2 separate regions of the Homo sapiens genome follow, and region 1 is linked to region 2. The links are contacts of gene promoters, found by promoter capture Hi-C in blood cells and fetal thymus (Javierre and others, 2016). All regions are on one chromosome and are shown on one strand. Each heading gives the region's core, a stretch centred on a gene start or on the middle of the fragment in contact. The rest is flanking DNA. Distances are from core to core; before and after follow the strand shown. Region 1 holds the start of ELOA2 (elongin A2). Region 2 holds the start of IER3IP1 (immediate early response 3 interacting protein 1).

Region 1 (6,473 bases), core at 3,661-6,160, 140 kb before region 2:
ACTGAAGAAAACTGGGTGCCCCTTACAGGTTTTCCAAGACAAGGAAACAAAGAGAAGTCAGCAGGCGCCAAATCAGGATTGTCAGGTGGACGCCTCACGGTTTCCCATGGCAAGTCTTGCCCAGCTGCCCTTGTTCGAAGAAAGGCATGATCAGGAACACTGTCGTGGTGGAGAAGAAGTCTCTGGTGGGGACCTTCTTCGCTCCAGCTTTGGCTAACTTTCTGAAAACGCTCTGCTAGCGAGCAGATGTGATCAGGGTTTGGCCCTGCAGAAAGTCAACCAGCAGAATCCCTCTAGCATCTCCCCCCCCCCCCCCCGCCCCCAACGGTGGCCATGACCTCTGCTCTTGACTGCTCCTCTGCAGCTTCGACTGGAGCACTGCCACCTCTTGGTAGCCATGGCTTCGTGCTTGGTCTTCAGGATCCTGCCGGTAGAGCCAGGTTTCATCTCCTGTGACCAATCTTGGAAGAAATGCTTCAGGATCTTGCTCCCACCGGTTGTTTAAAATCTCCTCGGAAAGGCTTGCTCTGGTCTGCAGCTGATATTGGTGCCACGGTTTGGGCAGCGGAGTTCCACTCTTACCTTTCAGTCCGAATGAGGAAAACAGATCCATTTGAAATATGTATGTTTTCGGCTTTTGTTTCTGCTGTCGTTGGCAGTTTCGCGTAATTTTTAATTTCTCGTGTGACTTTTTTTGTGTCTCTCTGTCTTTCTTTTTGTGTGTGTTGTGGTGGGGGCGGGGTGTGTTTCTTCTGCAGAAAGAAAATCATTATGCCCTGAGAATCGGGGAATGGGGATTCGGGTGTTAAGCCTTTTCTTATAAGTACCCTTCCACAGTTTGTAGAAAAATAGGTAAATTTGCTGTGTTTCCAGACTTCCAGCTACTTCTCCAGGAGAATCGTAGTGTAATACTGGCAATTCTTCAGAGCTAGAATGAGGATTATTTTAGTAGAGATGGGATCTTTTTCATATTGGTCGTCCTGGTCTTTAACTCCTTACCTTATGTGATCCACCCACCTCGGCCTCCCAAAGTGCTGAGGTAGGGCCTTGAGCCTCCCCACCTGGACTTTTTTGAGTTTTATATGGTTACTGGCAGTGTCACATCCCTTTTCCCAGAAAGAATGCTTTCTTGTCTTCCTGAAATGCAGTATCCCTTTGTCTCCATCCTGGCTTTTTTCCTGTGTGTGTGTGTATCATATCTGGCATACGTTCCTTTGATTACCAGCCCGTGTGAGGCCAACAAATGCCCTGCTTTATAATGAAAAGTTTTAAGAAAGCTAGCAGACGTCCGTGTGATCTGAACTCAAGGTAGTTAACCCGGTCCTTTCATGGTAATTAGAAAATCTGATTGGCCTCTTTAGACTTCTTGATTCAGAACCTAAATAAGCTGATTAATGTGTCACCATTCTTTCATAGGGGTTCTGGGTGAAAAGTTTGGGAATGATTCTATGTGTTACTTAGGGAAACTATTTTGGCTTAACGCATGTACCAGTGATTACCATTCACTTATGAAATCCGATAGTTCCTTTTTTCTAAGAAATAGCAGTTTTCTTTGAGCCATGCTCAGGTTCTGTCACCCAGCCTGAAGTGCAGTGGAATGATGAAGGGTCACTGCAACCTCTACTTGCCCAGCTCAGGCAATCCTGCCACCTCAGCCCTTTAAGAAGCTGGGACCACATGGACCGTGCCACCATGCCAGGCTAGTTTTGATATCTTTTGCAGAGACGGGGTTTTCCTATTTTGCCCAGGCTGTTCTTCACCTACTAGGCTCAAGCGAACTGCTTTCCTCCACCTCCCAAAGGAGGATGGCTCACGATTACAAGATCATGCTCAGCCTTTTATTAAAACAACAACAACGGCAGCAACAGCAAACATTTTATGTATTCGGAGTTATCAGTGTCAACTAATGGCTTGTGTGTTTTTGTCTAAGAAGTTCTTATCTACTTGATTTCGAAAAAAAAAAGAAAGGAAAAAGGAAATCTCACATCTTTTTCCTTATTTATGATTACAACTAGGGTGTTTTTAAAAATTATCAGTGAACATCCAAAATAGAATTGTTCCCAATGCGTTCATATCTTCTGAATTCTGAGGTGTTCTCCAAGCTGGGAGGTAGTGGCTGGGTGTGGGAGGCAAAATCACAGGGCCAGCACATGACACCTGCAGAATTCAAAGGCTCAACTTTGCACCAAGTTAAAGGTTCTGGTGTCCATTGGAAGTTTCGTTCCCCAACCCGCATTGACTTTGCCAATGCAAAAATCCCCCCAGATTTTATCTGCAAGGCAAGTCCTGAGTTTATCGTCGGGAGAATCTTCTCTTGTAGTCTCGAATTGCCTTGGCCATCAGCGGGGCCACTTTCTTGGCAGCCTGTTTCCGGGTTTTGGCCGCGGGCGCCGCGTGCTCATTGCTGCTGCTCAGGCAGGGGTTGGCCCGCTTCTCAGGGAGCCAGCGAAGGATGCTGCTGCTGCTGTCTCTGCCACCGCCGCTGCTGCTCTGGCTGGAGGGAGTGTGGCTGCTTCCCGCGGGCTTGGAGGCTGGCTTGATCTCCCCATTTTCGGGGTCAGCGTCTCCTGCAGACTTCTCTTGCCTCCTTGAAGTATCATAAGGCGTCTTGGCCACAGATTTGAAACAGATCATCTTTGCCTCTCTGCCGTTGGGGTTGTTTCCACGTGCAGATCGGATATTCGTTGTCATTACTCTCAGCCGCTGCTCTGGGGCGTCCGGAAGCCGCAGGTACTGCTCCCTCCAAGTTTTGTTTTCCTGTGGCTTTTCTTCCTTGAAGTCCTGGAAACAATGATTCCTCCGTAATTCGTCTGTCTCTCTAACGAGTGCGTGATTGTCTTTCTTTCTGCGATACAGCTGATCGGGCCTCCACCCTTCCAGAACAGGTTCAAGAACCCAGTAGGGGACCTCTCCCACGTCGCTGAGGGCGTCCGGATTGTTTCTAAGCACCTGGGCACACTGCTGGCGCAGCGTCGGCACCTGGAGCTGGCAGGCAGGCCTGGAGCCCGAGTACACCGGCATCTTAGCATTCACTCTGCGTCCAGGGAAAGCAGCTTCCTCCCGGAACTTTGGTGAAGAGAGTGCTTCTGGCTTTGCCTGGGAGGTCATGGAGTCAGAATCCGAAAGCGGATCGTAGTTGGCCTGCATCCAGGCCTCTGAGAGGTCCCAGAGCTCTGAGAAGACATGGCTGGGCACCGTTTTCGGCCCGGCGGAATCAGCGCCGGCCGCCTGCAGCCTCTCTGACTGGCTTTCCTGGACAGGAGGCAATTTCTTAGCCGAATCCCAGGACTCACGAGTGCCCTTGGATTCGTTTGCTTTCCTTTGTTTATCTCCAAGTGCAGTGGTGGCAGATTTTCCAGTCTTTTTCTTTTGCTTCCGCAACTGATCGTAGGTGAGGTATTTTTCACATGACAGAGTGGGCTGCTCGAATTCCTCAGCCATATCTACCTCCTCCACCTCAGAGAGGGAGCTCACGGACGTTCTGTCCAAATGAGCAGTCGGTGGCTTCCCCTCTTGAGTCTCTCGGTCGTTGGAAAGCTGCTCTTTCTCCTCGGGCGACAGGCCGTGTGTCCCATTTCCTGGGTCCCGGCCGTCTAGACTGGGCCTCTTCTTGTTCGAGTGACTGTGCTGAGGCCTCTTCTGGTGACTGTCTGGAGCCTCCTCCAAGGCAGGGACACGCTGGCCGCTGCCAGCTTGCCCCCCTTCCTTGTCTGTCTTGAAGTCCGAAGGCTGCCTGTCCCTGGCACTTGCCCAGGAGGGCATCCTTGGGGTTTCCTCTCTTAAGCAGGCCCCGCATGATTTCTCCCTGATCAAAGTAGGGGAGTGCCAATCTCCCTGGGCACACAAGGGGCGTTTTTCCTGGCGAGACGATTTGTGCCCCTTGCTGTGGCTCACAACGGCTTTCCCCTGGGGTTGGCCCTGGCAGCCTGGACACAGCAGAGGCCCGCCCTGAGCCGCGTGAGTGTGGCCTCTTCCGGGTTGCTTCCCGGGCGCAGCGGGCTCAGGGCCCTCGGGCATCCGGAGGGGAGCTGTGCGCGTTGGAGAGGCCCGATAGCGGCCGGAATCAGCTGGGGCTATTCTGGGGCACTTTCTCTCAGCTCTGGGCTCGCGACTGTGAGACCTCGGGTGAGGTCTCTGTTGCCCCGGAGGTGTTCTGCGTGCTGTCCGTCTGTGCTCAGGGCTGTGAGATGGGCTCCTGGGGGCCGTCGCGTTTTCTGGGAAGCCCCAGGCCTTTTCCTGGTCCTGAAGAGCCTCCCCGAAGCGCTGTCGGGAAGCGCTCTCCTCAGGGTCCTGTGGGCCAGGCCGGGTGTTTCGGTCCACGAGCACCAGCTTCTTCCACCGGGCCGCTAAGTCTCTGGCAAAGTCGCCCACGTGCTGGTGCTTCCGCAGGCGCTTCACCGTCTTTCTGATTCCAGTCTCCGCCAGGATGTCTGCCGTCATGGGCAAGGCGGAGAGTTTCTGCAAATATTTCTCTAGCTTTTTCGGCTCCGTCTTAGTGGCCAGACGCACCTGCAGCTTCTCCACTGCGTGCAGCGTAGTGGACCCTGCCGCCATCTCACCAGAGCTGTGCAGGCGTCGCTGTCCCGGCGGTCGCAGCTCTGTCTTTGGGGCTGCGGGACAGGAAGTCTGGGGTGGCCGGTCCTCGCTGCCCGGTCGCCAGGCAGCGACCTCGGGATGTGGAGTCACAGCCTGGAGCGAGCTGGGTCCTCGGAGCAGCAGGCCACTTGGTCTGGAACGGCCGTCCTTGCAGACAGCTGAGCAGGCCCGCTTTTGTTCCTCGGGATGTGGAGCCACAGCCTGGAGTGACCTCTGCAGTTTGCTGTGCAACAAAGAATGAAGCTCTGGTGCCAGAGCTGGGCCTTATGTAGCCCATCCCAGGCTGACACTCACGGCTCTAGCCCTGACCCTCTTAGCTCTTGGGCTGCCCCGCCCCCATACGTACTCATGCCGTCAGCACAATGCAGACAATCGGGACGGTCCACGCCAGGTGGACTGCTGTGCCCCAGAGGTTGATTAGGTTAATTTCAGCCTCGACACACCCCACTGAGTTTTACCGTTGACCTTCCATGTTCGCAGGTTCCACATCTGTGAATTCCAAAAAACACAGACTGAATCTTCTTGGGAGTAAAACAGAAAATAACACAGCAAGACAAAATCATAGAAAGAAGAACCAATACAGGATAACAACTCTTTGCCTAGGACTGATGTTGTGTGAGGGGACTTCCCAAATTTGTCAAAACAGGGATTAAAAGACAAAAATAAAACCGGTAGATTTTATTTCTTAACATCTGCTCCATCAATTTCGAGACAGTAGTTCGAGCACTGTCTTGACCCCGCCTTGTCCCTCAAGCCCTGATGTTTCTGGGAATTTAACTATTTCCAAGAAATCTTTTTTCCATTATTAACTGAAGAAAACTGGGTGCCGTTTGCAGAATTTTTAATACGAGGAAATAAATAGAAGTCAGCAGGTTCCACATCATGACTGCAAGGTGGACGCCTCATGATCTCCTTTTGAAACTCTTGCCAAACTGCCCTTTGTTCAGTGAAATGCTACAGCAAGAACTTTTTCATGATTAGGTAGAACTCTCTGGTAATGGTTTTTCTGCTCATGCTTTGGCTAGTTTTCTCAAAAACTCTGTTAGTAAGCATATTTGATCTTGGTTTGGCCCTTCAAAAAGTCTTTTAGTCATATCTTTTGAGCATTCCCCAAAACTGTTGCCATGACCTCTTCTCTTGACTGGTCCTCTCTGTCTTTGACTGGAGTGCTGCCACCTTTTGGTAGCCTTTGTTTTGTGCTCTTTCTTCAGGACTATCCAGTGTAGCCATGTTTTATCCCCGCTTACAAATCTTGGAATAAATATTTCTGGATCTTCTTCCACCTGTTTTAAAACTTTAAAGAAATTTTTACTCTTGTCTCTAGCTATTATTGTTGAAACAGATTTGGTATCTGGATCGGACTTTAATTTTCAGTGACAATTATTAAAACAGGATCATTTGAAATATCTATGGTTTTTTCTCTTATTTCTGTTGTTACTTATTTACCCTCTCAAATTAGGGAACACTTGGTCCTATGTTTCTGAGCATAGTTGACCAATTCTGACATTGTATTAAATTCAATAAATGTCTTTTCTGGATCTGTAGACACTTCTTTTGATATTTCTAGCATTTTTTTGGGTTGTACAGCATTTGAAAGTTAGGAAGTTTCCTGGCAGAGCCAGGAGATAGTCAGGAAACAAACAAGAAACAAATTAGAACCTACAGGTATATATATTCAACCTTTTAGGGGAATATTAGATGCAGGGACTGTAAAACAGAAGTATAGTAAAGACATTTGAAAGAAGTGATGTATGCTTTTTAACTGTTTGTTTTTGAGATTGAAAGCTTAATGCAAAATTTGGATCTTATTACTGAAATTGAAACGAGCTCATGCAAATTAATCTCCATTGCACCCGTAAAAAGGAAATTAAAAGCAC
Region 2 (7,268 bases), core at 2,269-4,768:
GAAATCCCACTGTCTAGGTTTTTCCATCTCTCTGTTTTGCTCACTTGTCAAGTTCTCCTGTCAGTTCTTCCATCTCTACCTAAACAATAAATACTAGAGGAGATTCTAGGGCTGTCTGGGGCACCAATTCTTTTTGTACTCTACTGTTTTCTTTCATAATTTCATCTTCTCACATGACTTCATTTATTATCTATGCTTGACAAACTCAAATTTCAATCTCCGCCCTAATTCGTGCTGCTGTTCTATGGATTTAAATGCAACTGGCTATTTTACATCTCCACTTGCGTATCTCATAGAAATCTCAAACTGAGCATGACTAAAATTTATTTCATTATATCTTCACCTTCTTACCTAGCACCATCACCCCAAATTTTCCTCCAATACTGTTTAACTCAGTAAAGGTATTACCCTTCACTCAGTGGCTTAACCCAGAGGGCCAAGAGATCTTTGACTTCATCCACTCTTATTCCCAAAGTCCAAGAGTAAATTCTGCCTTTTATACCTTTTTTTTCTTCCTTCGAGACATAGTCTTGCTCTGTCACCCAGGTTGGAGTGCAGTGGCGTGATCTCAGCTCAATGCAACCTCTGCTTCCCAGGCAAGTGACTCTCCTGCCTAAGCCTCCAGAGTAGCTGGGATTACAGGCGCCCACCACCACACCCTGCTAATTTCTGTATTTTTAGTAGAGACAGGTTTCACCATGTTGTCCAGAGTGGTCTCAAACTCATGACCTCAAGTGATCTGCCCACCTTGGCCTCCTAAAGTGCTAGGCATGAGCCACCATGCCCAGCCTCTACTTTTAAAATATCTTTTGATCCACATAAAATTCCTAGGGCTGCCATAACAAAGCAGCACAAACTGGGTGGCTTAACAGAAATTTTTTCATAATTTTGGAGGCTAAAAGTCTGAAATCAAGGCGTAAGCAGGGTTGGTTCCTTCTGGGGGGCTCTGAGGGATAATCTCATCCATGCCTCTCTCTTAACATCCAGTAGTTGCTGGAAATCCTTGGTATACCTTGTCTTATATATGCATCACTCCAATCTCTGCCTCAGTTGTCACATGATCTTCTGCGTGTGCATCTGTGTGTCTCCAAATCTCTCTTTTCTTATAAGGGCACCAGTCATTGGCTCTAAAGCCCTCAATCTAACCCAGTATGATCTCATCTTAACTTGATTATATCTGCAAAGACTCTGTTTCCAAACAAGGTCACCTTCATAGGTATCAAGGGTTGGGACTTCAACACATCTTTTTGAGGGACACAATTCAAACCCCAACTTGATCCCTTCTACTTTTCTGGATAGCGGTGAACAGATGAACTCTGGAAGATGACATTTGAATCCTAGCTCCACCACTTTCTACTTTCTACCTGTGTGTTCTTACAAAAGCCACCTACTCTCTTTGTGATTCTAGTTTTCCACTGGAAAACAGAAACTCTCTCATAGAGTTGCTGTGAAGGCTACACCAGTTAATATATGTAAGGCACTTGATACAGATCCTGTACGTAAGTGCTACGTAAGTATTAGCTATTATTATTGTTGTCATACCCACTTGTATCTACTTGCCCTATTTAGAATTGTTCTTCCTTGGGAGGCCGAGGTGGGCAGATCACGAGGTCAGGAGTTCGAGACCAGCCTGACCAACATGGTGAAACCCCATTTCTACTACAAATACAAAAATTAGCCAGGCTTGGTGGTGCGTGCCTGTAATCCCAGCCATTCGGGAAGCTGAGGCAGGAGAATCGCTTGAACCTGGGAGGCGGAGGATGCAGTGAACCGAGATTGCGCCACTGCACTCCAGCCGGGGGGACAGGGTGAGACTCCGTCTCAAAAAAAAAAAAAAATGGGTCTTCCCACATCCACTGCTTTCCCTTCCAATCTTTCCTCCGTATTGTAGCCTCAAGGATCTTGCAAATAACACAAATCTGGTCATGTCGCTGTCTTAAGACCCTCTTCTCACCTGCCTCAGTTTTCACACCAGGTCTACACTGCTTAAAGCTCTCCTCACCCTTCCAGCTCCTCCCAACCCTTCACCTTCACCGAGTTAATGTTTACTCATGTATCAGATTTCAGGTTAGACACGCTTCCTCCAAGAAGCTTTCGCAGATACACAAGTTAGTATCTGCCCGTACTTCTCTTACATAATACTCTCTATACTTGTTATTGTCATTTGTTTAGTTTTTATTTAGATTAACTTCCATCAGAAGGGCAGAGTAGCTGCTGTAACTTCAGTTACTATAAATGGGCCTGGCACATACTTTGCACTCAATAAATATCTTCTGAAGTAAATGAAATGAATCAATCTTGCTCCTGGGTTTACGTTTCAGTGATTCAAACGGGCATACTTGGTACACAACGTGAGGTCCTGGAAGGTATAACTTGTGTTTTCATTTTTGAATTTCTAAATTCTAGCAGAGTTTTTGGCACACTCTATGCACCCAATAAGCTATCTGAATAAACTTTTCTTGGAACATGAGTGTCTGAATGTCCTGATAACTCCAACACGTTCCCTTCCTGTAATTCCTAAAGCCCAGGAACACTTATTGCCTTCCATCAGTTAGTGAACTACTGATGCTCCAAAATGGGTCACGCCTCCTTCCCCTCCACACCCAACTCGTTTTGTTTTGTTTGTTTTGTTTTGTTAGACGGAGTCTCACTCTATTGCCCAGGCTGGAGTGCAATGGCGCAATCTCGGCTCACTGCAACCTCTGCCTCCCAGGTTTAAGTGATTCTCCTGCCTCAGCCTCCCGCCCGGCTAATTTTTGTATTTCCACCACCACGTCCGGCTAATCTTTGTATTTTTAGTAGAGACGGGGTTTTACCATGTTGGCCAGGCTGGTCCCAAACTCCTGACATCATGATCCGCCGGCCTCGGCCTGCCAAAGTGCTGGGATTACAGGCGGGAGCCACCGCGCCCGGCCCCACACCCCCAACTCTTAGCCCGAAACTCAGACCCCGGGTTTTCGACTATTAAAAGTAGTCACAGGACCGCGACACTGCACTTCAGCCTGGGCAAAAGAGCGAGACTCCCCCTCAAAAAAAAAAGTAGTCACAGAAAACTGAATTAAATTACTGACCTGAAGTAATCGCAAGCAGAGGCGTCCCTGACTGACTTCTATATCCCTCCACCCCAACCCCCTGGGCCCTGCACAGCGGGTGTCTGTTGAATATTCTCCCGGCTGTTGAGCCCAAACCTGATGAGAGGAAAGGCTCGGCTTCCACTCCAAGCCGAGCCTTCCGCTGTTCTTCTGTCCCGGCCCTTGGTGTCCCCTCACGCGGCCCCATTAGGTTACGCGCCCCCGGGGACTCCGCCGCCGCCCCAGCCCGCGCCCCGCGGTCCCACTCACTGTTCTTGAGGAATCGCTCCTCGTGCAGCACTGCGATGGCGTTGACGCAGAGCAGGGCTGCCTGCAGCAGTGAGTACAGGGTAAAGGCCATGGCCGTCCGAGGCCGCCCCGAAGTCCAAGCGATTTCTCTCCCGCCGCCGCAAGGGACGTGGCGCCTCCACGGCCGGCGCCTTCCTACGGAAGCCGATGGGGCCCAAAACGAACTCTCCGGGAAGCCCCGCCTCCATCTGGCTAAGAACCGCCCCTCGCTGAAGACTGCAAGTCCTGCCGCTTGTCTAGACCGGTGATGTGCAATCAATGCTCTGATGTGGCCAGTGCTGCAGGTGCAAAATACACACCGGATTTCACACACTTGGAACTGGAACAAGGATGAAGAATATCCCAATAATTTTTTTTTTTTTGAGATGGAGTCTGGCCCTGTCGCCCAAACTGGAGTGCAGTGGCACGATCTCGGCTCACTGCAAGCTCCGACTCCCGGGTTCACGCCATTCTCCTGCCTCAGCCTCCCAAGTAGCTGGGACTACAGGTGCCCGCCACCACGCCCGGCTAATTTTTTGTATTTTTAGTAGAGACGGGGTTTCACCGTGTTAGCCAGGATGGTCTCAATCTCCTGACCTCGTGATTCCCCCCTCCTCGGCCTCCCAATAATTTTTAAATGTTGATAACATGTTGAAATGAAAATATTTTGAGGCCGGGCGCAGTGGCTCACGCCTGTAATTCTAGCACTTTGGGAAACCGAGGCGGGCAAATCACCTAAGGTCAAGAGTTCGAGACCAGTCTGGCCAACATGGCAAAACCCTGTCTCTACTGAAAATACAAAAATTAGCTGGGTGTGATGGTGGGCTCCTGTAATCCCAGCTACTCAGGAGGCTGAGAGAAGAGAATCACTTGAACCCGGGAGGCAGAGACTGCAGTGAGCCGAGATCCAGCCTGGGTGACAGAGCAAGAGGAAAGAAGGAAGGAAGGGAGGAAGGTTTCTTGTTTATTTTTAATTATTTTATTTAATGTGGTTATGAAGATACTGTAAATGACATGTGACGCTTGCATTATATTTCTATTGCTCAGTACTGCACTTGATGCTCCCAGGAGATACAGGAGATACTAATATTCCCATTTCAGATTTCAGAATGCTAAAACAAAATAACTGTTTTAAAATTACTCAGTGAGAAACATCCCCTCCTTGACCAAACTCCAACCAAGATCCTCTGAGCCTCTTCTTTTTTTTTTTCCCCCCCCAGGAACAGGGTCTTGCTCTGTTGCCCAGGCTGGAGTGCAGTGGCACCATCATAGCTCAATGCAGCCTTCAGCTCCTGGCTCGAGCAGTCCTCCTGCCTTAGCCTCCTGCTTAGCTGTATGTGATGGTTAAGACTGAGTGTCAACTTGATTGGATTGAAGGATGCAAAGTATTGATCCTGGGTGTGTCTGTGAGGGTGTTGCCAAAGGAGATTAACATTTGAGTCAGTGGGCTGGGAAAGACAGGTCCACTCTTAATCCAAGTGGGCACCATCTAATCAGCTGCTGGAGTGGCCAGGATATAAAGCAGGCAAAAAACCAATGAAAAGGGTATGCCAAGACCAGCTCGGTTGGGGAGACCCTAACCCAGCGGTGCTAGAGGAATTAAAGACACACACAGAGGTGTGAAGTGGGAAATCAGGGGTCTTATAGCCTTCAGAGCTGAGATCCCCGAACAAAGATTTACCCACGTATTTATTAACAGCAAACCAGTCATTAGCATTGTTTCTATAGATGTTAAATTAACTAAAAGTATCCCTTATGGGAAATGAAGGGATGGGCCGAATTAATTGCAGCAGGAACACATCCTTAAGACACAGATCTCTCAGGCTTTTGTTTGTGGCTTAAGAATGCCTTTAAGCAGTTTTCCAACCTGGGTGGGCCAGGTATTCCTTGCCCTCATTCCCGTAAACCCACAACCTTCCAGCTTGGGCGTTAGGGCCATTATGGACATGTTATAGTGCTGCAGAGATTTTATTTATGGCCAGTTTTGGGGCTAGTTTATGGCCAGACTGTTGGGGGCTTGCTCTCAACAAGGGTAGACTGGCTTAGCCTCCCAGCCTACATCTTTCTCCCATGCTGGATGCTTCCTACCCTTGAACGTTGGACTTCAAGTTCTTCAGCTTTGGGACTCAGACTGGCTTCCTCAGCTTGCAGACGGCTTATTGTGGGATCTTGTGATCGTGTGAGTTAATAGTACCGAATAAGCTCCCTCTTTGTATATATATCTCCTATTAGTTCTGTCCCTCTAGAGAATACTGACTAATACACTCTATTACAGGAATGGGTCATCCCGCCAGGCTGAGCCCTCTTCTTGACAACACCTCAATATTGGCCACTTAAAAACTACAGATTCTCAGCCTGGGGAACATGGCAAGACCCTGTCTCTACCAAAAATACAAAAAAAAAAAAAAAATGCCTCAGCTTAGTGGTATACACCTGTGGTCCCAGCTACTAAGGAGGCTGAGGTGGGAGGATCACTTGCACCCAGGGAACGGAGGTTGCAGTGAGCTGAGATTGAGCCATTGCACTCCAGCTTGGGTGACAGAACAAGACCCTGTCTAAAAAACAAAACAGGCTGGGCGCGGTGGCTCACACCTGTAATCCCAGCACTTTGGAAGGCCGAGGCGGGTGGATCACAAGGTCAGGAGATCTAGACCATCCTGGCTAACACAATGAAACCCCATCTCTATTTTTTAAAAATACAAATAAATTAGCCGGGCATGGTGGCGGGCACCTATATTCCCAGCTACCCGGGAGGCTGAGGCTGGAGAACGGCATGAACCCGGGAGTCGGAGCTTGCAGTGAGCCGAGATCACGCCACTGCACTCCAGCCTGGGTTACAGAGTGAGATTCCATCTCAAAAAAAAAAAAAAAAAAAAAAAAAAAACACTACAGATTCTCCACACAAATGATATGCATATTGTGTATCTCCTTTACCCAACACTAAAACACTTGAATACTAACATAGTTTCTTTTTTTAATTGTATTTATTTATTTTAAGACAAAGTCTTGCTTTGTCACCAGGCTGGAGTGCAGTGGCAGTGGTGCCATCTCAGCTCACTGCAATCTCCGCCTCCTGGGTTCAAGCGATTCTTCTGCCTCAGCCTTCTGAGTAGCTGGGACTATAAGCGCGTGCCACTACGCCCAGCTAATTTTTTGTATTTTTAGTAGAGACAGGGTTTCACCGTGTTAGCCAGGATGGTCTTGATCTCCTGACTTCGTGATTCCATCCACCTCAGCCTCCCACAGTGCTGGGATTACAGGCGTGAGCCGCTGTGTTTGGCTGAATACTAACATAGTTTCTAACAGCTCGCTGTTGCATTCAGTTGCTACTGTTGCTACTTGCCTGAAAAAGCTTCAGGCTGCCAAAAAATTTACTGTTTGTTTTAGCCAACACCTTACAATAGGCCCCAACCTTCCTTTCTTAGAGCGTTTACTCAAGAGGGCTTACAATTGTGAATCCTTCTCCTGTCCCTTTGAGATGTACATGTTTCTCCTACAACTCAGGAGCATCTTTCTCAAGGACCTGAAAGCCATCCCTTTAAAATGTAATCAATCATCAGGAAGGTTAAGAGCCTCTGTCTTCCAATCTCTATGGGAAGGCAGCCAACAGACACAGCTGGCCTAACTGCATCAACCAATCCTTTGTCGTTTATAGGATATTAACTCACACAAGGTCCCGCAATATGCCGTCTGCAAGCTGAGGAGCAAGGAAGCCAGTCCAAGTCTCAAAGCTGAAGAACTTGGAGTCCAATGTTCAAGGGTAGAAGCATCCAGCATGGGAGGAATATGTAGGCTGGGAGGCTAAGCCAGTCTACCCTTTTCACTTTTTTTTGCCTGCTTTATATCCTGGAAGTTTAACTTCCCTGTCTCTACTGAGACACCACTCATCTTCCTCCCTACTCCTTCATT

What was found. Contacts are between HindIII fragments. The CHiCAGO score rates a contact against its expected background, and 5 or more counts as called.
Region 1: the fragment with the promoter of ELOA2 here is called in contact with the fragment with the promoter of IER3IP1 in region 2 in 2 of 17 cell types (M2 macrophages and total B cells); the score reaches 5.7 in M2 macrophages.

What each region holds. Positions count from the first base shown.
Region 1 is chr18:47,030,711-47,037,183 of GRCh38, forward strand. It overlaps ELOA2 (elongin A2), which reads right to left and starts at 4,911. Exons shown (of 1, transcript NM_016427.3): 1 at 1,817-4,911. The coding sequence starts at 4,554. The coding sequence ends at 2,293. The region is part of intron 3 of KATNAL2 (katanin catalytic subunit A1 like 2); the gene reads left to right. The HindIII fragment of the contact is 9,917 bases long and covers 1-6,379 here.
Region 2 is chr18:47,172,846-47,180,113 of GRCh38, forward strand. IER3IP1 (immediate early response 3 interacting protein 1) reads right to left here and starts at 3,519. Exons shown (of 3, transcript NM_016097.5): 1 at 3,342-3,519. The coding sequence starts at 3,432. RefSeq lists enhancers at 3,428-3,547, 3,558-3,687. The HindIII fragment of the contact is 4,620 bases long and covers 2,090-6,709 here.